2 separate regions of the Homo sapiens genome follow, and region 2 is linked to region 1. The links are contacts of gene promoters, found by promoter capture Hi-C in blood cells and fetal thymus (Javierre and others, 2016). All regions are on one chromosome and are shown on one strand. The core of a region is centred on a gene start or on the middle of the fragment in contact, and the rest is flanking DNA. Distances in the headings are between cores, read along the strand shown.

Region 1 (3,851 bases), core at 717-3,216:
AGTGCTTCCCAACTTCTTGTCCACGATGACCTACTTTTCCATTACTATATTCTCTGAAACACTGACTTACTGTATTAAGTTCCATTAGTTCTCTGCGTCCACAGTTATAGTCTCCTTAGGCTTTCAACAGTACCTACATTTCTTCTTCCTTATCCACCAAACAGAATTGGCACAAGGCAACATAACGTGGTCTGACTGGTCAATCACTATGAAGTGATTCAGGATGAATGAGCAGGCAAAGTCCTTAGCCAGGATTAACATCAGCATGTGAAAGTATAACAGAGTGTGCACAAAAGATTAATACACCAAAATTCTGCTGCTAGGAAAGGTTAAAGAGCCTTTCCAACCTAAGAATCTAGCACTTTAAGACTAAGACATCACTTGAGTAGTACTTTTACGTAGTTTGGTTTTGTTATTTTGGTTTATGAATCAGACTTATTCTTTCTATAAGAAATCAACTTACCAGTGACCTCGTACCCATTGCATCATGAAGTTTGGGCATATCAACATTTTGACTCATTCGGGAAATCATACGCATTAAAAGTTGAAGCTTTCTACGATTTGGTGGGGGAAGTAACAAACAACATAACTGTAGAGCATCGATGGCAACCCTCTCTAAATGAGGTTGCAGCAAGCCTAGAATACAAAAATACCCCCCCAAAAATCATCAATGACACTAGTTGCTTTCATACTACCAGTATATACAGCTATATAAAGAAGGTAAAATAATATCTTAGTATTTCATCTTTTAACTATTTCTAGAAATTACGTTCCTCTAAAGCATGGTAAGATTCTCATTATTTTCTTTACAACTTATTTCTAAGTATTAAAATTCTTCACTTATTACAAATAAAGTGACTCAGAATAAATGAAATTGCAAAAAAGAAAATAAGTTCCTTAGGTAAACAGAATAAATCTTGGTTATGTCACAGACAAAAGTCTTTTTAAATAATTCCTCTTGGAGGAAAAAAAATTAAGCAACTTCAAGGAAGAAAAGCCAGGTAAGCAAAACACAGAGTTAGTAAACACTCAAAGTTAATATTGCATGCATTGAAAGCAACAGCCTTACTTTGTGTGCCAGTCAACATAGAAGAAGCTGGAAGTAAAGAATTTTCTGAAAGTTCTATTGTACTTTTGCAGAGTCTTTTATTGATTGTGGCACTAGACTCTCCGAGTTCACTTTCCATAGCTGTTTGCACACTTGTGCTGCCTTGTCCAACATTTGGTTTCATGATAATTTCAGCCACTGGTGTATTGATATAACTATTCCTTCTTGTACTACTTCTTAAAAGCAAACTCTGAGACCTACAAAGCTGTTTTGACTTGCATTTCCCATTACACAACTCCTCTTGGTCTTGAACAGTCAAAGTAGAGGTTCTCTTAAAACCAGCACTGAATGGCTTTTGAATATTTTCCTCTGAATGAAGATTCAACAGGAATTCCTGTTTGGGCTTAGACTCTAAAAACAGTTTATTATTTTGTCCTTCTATGTTCGGAAAAGATTGATGAAAGACACTGGATGCCTCTTTACTTGAATTCCCTGGCACATCTACAATTCCTTCCAAAGAACAGCACCTTGGTTTGCTGTTAGAGGATAGATCATGCATATTACTTAACCCTATTAAATTATGACAACTTCCTCCCATTATGTCATTAGCACTCACTCTTCTGTTTCTTAAATTAACTAGCTGCATTTTCTTAGCACATCTTTCTTGAAATCCTGGATTGCTTATCTGTAGTCTCTCAGTAGAATCTGATTCTTCTTTGTTTTTTTCTCTATGAAGCAGACTGAGAAGAAGGCACTCAGTTGATTTGAAGGAATTCAAATTGTTTAAGTGAAGGAATTTTGAAGACTGTGGATCATCTTGAATTTTATGTATCCCACTGGATCTATCTGAAACTGTGATGTAGCCACAAACAACTACCAGGAAATGAAACAAAAATTAAGATGCAACTGTATGACAGTGGACAAAAATAAAACAAAAACAATAGTAAAGTTAAAAAATAAAGCATTACTATAGTATATATTGTTAGTATAGTATACACAGTAGTTGCTTAATTCAGAAGCCACTTAAATAGGACACATGCAACATTCGGTTACAAACGTGCAAGACAGATGAGTGGTTTTCCCATTTGTAATATAACTTTAAAAAATTATTTCAACAGCCTAATTAAATGGATTGAGCCAGAATACATTTAAAAAATCTGTTCTCAGTCTGCAAGTACTAGAAACCTCATAAATATAAGATAATTGTGGTATAATAAAATACATATATTTGATCTTTGTCCTTGGTACCTGGTATGGAGCTCCTAAAATCCTTGAAATTTCCTGAATGATAGAAGTCTTTAGTTACTCATAACAAGCCTATTTCAGCGTATCTGAGTTCATGCTAAGGTAACTGAGGGCCGGCCATGGTTTGAATTTTCATCACCAACTACAACCTTGTGGGAGGAGAAAGGGGCTAGAGATTGAGTTCAATTGACAACAGTGACCAATGATTTGGTCAGTCATGCCTTGGTAATTAAACTTCAATTAAAACTCTAAAACATGCAGGCTGAGGGAGTTTTCTAGGTTAGTGAACACATGGATGTGCTGGGATCACGGCATGACCAGAAAGGGTAGAGAAACTCTGTGCCACCCCCACCCTCATACCGTGCTCTGTGTAACTCTTCCATTTGGCTATTCTTGAGGTCTAGCTTTTATAATAAACTAATAGTCATAGTTAAAGTGCTTTTCTGAGTTCTGTGAATCATTGTAGTGAATTATTGAGTCTGGTAGGGGGTTGAGGGAAGTCCCGAATTGGTAGTTGGCTGGGCGGAAGTATGAGTAACCTCGGAACCTTATTTCACTGAATTTTAAAATAATTTGTAGGCTGCCACCTTTATATTTACCTATGGTTTTAGATCTTCTAAATTATAAGAAAGTTGAAAACTTTAACAAAATGAACTAAAATCAGTAAAATCTATACATACCCAAAATGTTTACAAATAATTCGTAATATTCAAAAGTAAGTAGAGGTTCAGGGAGATCTAGAAAATAATCTGCGATTGTTCTGAATACATCTCGTTCAAATCCAACATAAGTTGGATTATTCATATCATTGCTTCTTGGCCCTAAGAAGTAGAAGGCAAGAGAAAAAGGTAAAGTATATTTTAATTTAAATACAATTTTTAAACATAAAAAGTATAAAATCTGTATTTCATGAAGGAGCTAGGTTTAACAACAAATTCTGCCACAGTTCAAAAATTTAAAGGGTGTATTTCATTCTTCCTCATTATCTTTCCACTGGAAGCAGTCAATTGCTAGTATTTTGTTTAACATTTGTATACCTGAAAAATCATACATAAAGCAAAATTTTAATATCATTTTAAAAGCATTAGGGAAGCTTAGTTTAATAAGATTTTATTGTAATTCATTTTGTAAAGGAAAGAATATTTGGACAACACAAATAATTCCTTCAAATTGTCTTTTTGTAAATTTACATGTTCATGAATATATTTTGTCTGACATGAAGCATAGCCTTAATGAATTTAAATAATATCTTTACATTGTTGTTTCTTAAGCTTGACACAACTATTGAAATAATCATACCTACTCATTTGTGTTTTCCTCAAAAATAAGATCTGATCTCATTTTATAGATAAGAAAACTGAGGCTGAGAGTACCTTGCCCAAGATGAAAAAGACTCTGGTAGCAAAGTTTGAATTAGAAGTTAGAGCAGTGTAAAATAAGCACAAGGCCCAGGACTTTTAAAGCTACAACAACATTTAAAGTGTGGTTCATAGATTATATCACAGAATCATCCAATGTGCCTATTAAAAATACAAAGTCCTCTATGGAGACCATAATC
Region 2 (3,851 bases), core at 688-3,187, 1.7 Mb after region 1:
TTATTTCATTTTATCTCATTTAGACCTTAATAGGTCCTGTTATGACTCCTGCATAATAAATGAGAAATTAGGGCACAGAGTGATTAACCATCTCAATGTTATGTGAGCAAAGATAGGAAGATAAGAAGCACGACCCCGTAACGAACTACAAACAGTTCAGAATTATAGTGGTTTGCCTATCAAAGTTTCACTAACAAGTGATGAAACTGAGGGCTACATACAGCCAGACAGAGAAAGACTTTCTATATTATAGTAACAGGGATTCCTTTTTTATATATAAGCTACAAATACCATGAGTTTCTGCCATTTATATCTTTCCCTCCTATGAAATGCTGTTTATTCACTCATTTAAAATCATTTTATGTACCAGGTAAAGTGTTAGGTTCTGGTTATATAACAATAACCTAAGCAGTTCTAATCCATATCATCACGGACCTAAGAGTCAGAATCCATGTGCTCTCTTAAAGTTTAACAGACGAAACCACCTGAGTCTAGTCAATAAGTACATTCTAGCACACCACTTATGATTTGAGAATACTCATTCACTTACTTATTGCTTCCGCAAAATTTAATAAGACTCTACTATGTACCAAGCACTATTTTCAGTGATAGAAATACAACAAAGCACAAAACAAAGCTCACTGACTTCATGATATTAACCTTTTGGTTGGAGGGCAGAGAAAACAAAAAACATAAATGATATAAATTCTGATAGTGATAAATGCTGTTAAAAAATTAAACAGGTAAGAGAACAGAATGTTAGCATGATAGGTATGCAAGTTTAGAGAAAAATGTTTCAGGTTTTGGGGAAACCAAGTAGATATATATATATGCACAACTGTAGTTTGAAAATGAGTATGTTCCCATTGATCAAAAACTCTTTTAGGTGGAGTAAGGATTCTGTGTCTTTTCATTCATTCAGAAGCATTTGCTTGCCTAATCTACTTTATACATGTCACAATAAGAAAGCAATCATTAGAAGGAAAATGGAAGGTTTTAATCAGTCTTAAAACCTAAATATAAATGAAGAAAAACATTACAGGAAAAATGCTCTATTTCTCCATCTCTCCATTCCCCTCCCTCTCTCTCTTACACACACACACACACACACACACACACGACAATCAGAAGAGCATCTGGCCATTCATTCATGGTACCCAGATTTGTGCTTCTTGGTCTTTAACAGGTTTCTCAGGATGTCCCCACATTCAAACACTCTGTGTGGCATCTATCCTGATCTTCAACTTAGAAAATATACTCATTATTCCTTGTAAGTAGAACTCTGCACAGCTGCATACAGAAGAGCGTCTCGGCAGGGAACAGTGCAGGTTCACAAAGGGGCCGATAAAACATATAATTTTAGCTTTGGTAATTGCCCTTGAAGATTACAATAAGAGGAGGAAAATAAGGGCCAAAGAAACAAAAGATTTGCCCGTGATTTGATAGCTGGTTTCGTCACATATTATGTTGCTTATCCCACAGAATGTGGGAATCCCAGAAAGCGCCCCGTTTAAATTTAGACCGTATTTTTAGCAGGGTCCCTTTAACAGAGATTGCGGGAACCTGGGAAGGAACTGAACTGGGCTAACCAAACCGGTCGAAATGAGCACAGGGATTAGATTAGAGCACAGAAATTCTGGCTAGCAGTCTGAGAAAGGGGGCCAAAGCCAGCCCAGAGAAAAGGGAGGTTGCCTGGGCCAAAGGCTTTCTGACAGGAGACACAATAGGGTCGTACCTCTGGGTCTTACCTTCACTGAGGTTTCTACCCGACAGGTTTAACTGGCCGCTCTTCCTCGCTGCCTTCAACAGCCCTTGGGGTACCGAGGTACCGCAGTCTCTTCCACCTGCTTTGAAACCAGCGCGGAGATCCTGCCCCGCTATCCGCTTCAGGCGCGACATGTTCAAAGTCCTAGGTCCAGAAGCTGCAGCCCCACCCGTGACGCTTAAAGGTGGCGCCGTTGGGATGCCCCGCTCCTTTCGTGAGCGCGCGCTCTGGGCGCTGGGCTCGCGGCCTCGCGCTGGGCCTTCACTCTCTGCGGCGCAGTCCAGATGTCGTCAGCACCAGCGCCTGGGCTGGAGGACAGAGAAGCCTTTTCCGTTGCCGGTGCCGGCCTAGCGTCCTGGAATTACTTCAATCAAGTAAGTGCGTTTAACGGGCTTAAGAGGGGCTTTCGGGTTTATTGTTTGCACTGTTACTGCGACTCCAACCTTCTCCTCTGTGCTTCCACCGTGGCGAGGGTGTGGGGAAAGAGAACCCTCTCTTCTCCCCTCTCCTAGTCTGAACGTGGGCCTTGACTAAAACTTGAGATCTGGGCGCGGTCGGCAGCGTTTCTGGACCCCAGCCTGTGTTTGTCGCTTGTGGTGGTGGCGCCAGACCTCTGGCGTACGGAGTAAAAGAAATTTTCTGTTCTTAAGGCTTGTACTCTGACACCATTCTCGTTGTATTGAGGGTATATAGCTTACCCAGCAAAGGAGGTAATGTGAAATGGAAGGACTGGCAACATAGAAGACAAAAACAAAAATCCTTAAAATTTAATAAATGTTCTGTGTATCAGACAGTTTAGGGAGACAAGTAGTGGTACATGCTTTAGTGAAGCTCAGACAGCTTGGATTTTTGAGCCCTAAAAAGCAAGTTCAAATCTCAGCTGCTTCTTTACTTTAGAAACTGTTAACTTTAGGCAGTTTACTCAACCGCTTTTAAAGCTCATTCCTTTTTTTCATTACTTTGGGGATAATTCCTACCGCATAAGGTTTTTGAAATAAGTGAAGATAAAAACTAGAATCTTGAGCTCTCGGTGAGTCCAGAATAATAGCAAATGAAAATTTTGTTCAATGTAAGTCGGTGTTTCCTAGGAAATTAAAATTTTCATCTGAAATGTACAACTTCTTGATTCAACAAGTAATTATTAAGATTAATCCTGCCTAGTATGTGTACTATCCTGGGTGCTAGACTTTTCTTTTGCCTGAAATGATTTTGTTTTAAAAGCATATGCCAGGGAATACCATTCTAACCCCCATCAAGTCTACTGAGGATTGGTAGAATAGTTGAAAGCTAGGATGAAGGCCCTTTGATCAATTCTTCATCACGCACTTTTACCTGAGTCCAGGTTATTGCTACCTGTAAAATTCGGTTTTTAACTCTACCCTTTTTGTTCTTATTTCTGTGGAGTCCTTTACACTAATATCGAACAAGAGAAAGTTACCAATAGTTGTTACCCTACTAAAAAAGCAAAGAGTGGATTTTTGTCTTTTTTTTTTTTTTTTTTTTGAGACAAAGTCTGGTCTGTCGCCTAGGCTGGAATGCAGTGGCGTGATCCCGGCTCACTGCAACCTCCGCCTCCCAGGTTCAAGTGATTCTCCTGCCTCAGCCTCTCCAGTAGCTGGGATTATAGCCGCGCACCACCACACCTGGCTAATTTTTATATTTTTTAGTAGAGACGGAGTTTCGCCATGTTGGTCAGGCTGGTCTCGAACTCCCAGCCTCAAGCGATCCGCCCAGTTCGGCCTCCCAAAGTGCTGGGATTACAGGTGTCAGTCGCCGTGCCCAGCCTGAGTTTTAAAGGAAAACGACCGTAGCAGCTTTTGCAACGTTATTAATGAGGTCCCTGGTCAGCTTGTCTTCACAGTAATGGTAATAGCTGCCTTATTGGGCCCATACCAGGCTCAGTGCTAATAATACCTCTGTTTGCTATTTCTTATTTAACACAGTGACTAATTTTGCAGATAAGGAAATTGAGGCTAAAAGGGGTGAAGAAACTTACCCAACCTCACAAGTTTCTCTGAATAGCACGACCAGGAATTTGAACCTAGATCTGTCTCCAAAACCTTTCTTTTTAATCACCATGACTTCC

What was found. Contacts are between HindIII fragments. The CHiCAGO score rates a contact against its expected background, and 5 or more counts as called.
Region 2: the fragment with the promoter of LRRC40 here is called in contact with a fragment that was not itself captured in region 1 in 1 of 17 cell types (monocytes); the score reaches 5.1 in monocytes.

Annotation. Positions count from the first base shown.
Region 1 is chr1:68,480,977-68,484,827 of GRCh38, forward strand. It overlaps DEPDC1 (DEP domain containing 1), which reads right to left. Exons shown (of 12, transcript NM_001114120.3): 7 at 2,974-3,114; 8 at 1,070-1,921; 9 at 464-636. It overlaps DEPDC1-AS2 (DEPDC1 antisense RNA 2), which reads left to right. Exons shown (of 2, transcript NR_198991.1): 2 at 1,785-2,728. Among named protein-coding and RNA genes, the nearest start is that of DEPDC1-AS2, 3.8 kb to the left of the region's middle. The HindIII fragment of the contact is 2,836 bases long and covers 549-3,384 here.
Region 2 is chr1:70,203,642-70,207,492 of GRCh38, forward strand. It overlaps LRRC40 (leucine rich repeat containing 40), which reads right to left and starts at 1,938. Exons shown (of 15, transcript NM_017768.5): 1 at 1,749-1,938. The coding sequence starts at 1,899. It also overlaps a transcript of SRSF11 not described here. RefSeq lists enhancers at 1,532-1,591, 1,852-2,161. The HindIII fragment of the contact is 8,465 bases long and covers 1-3,851 here.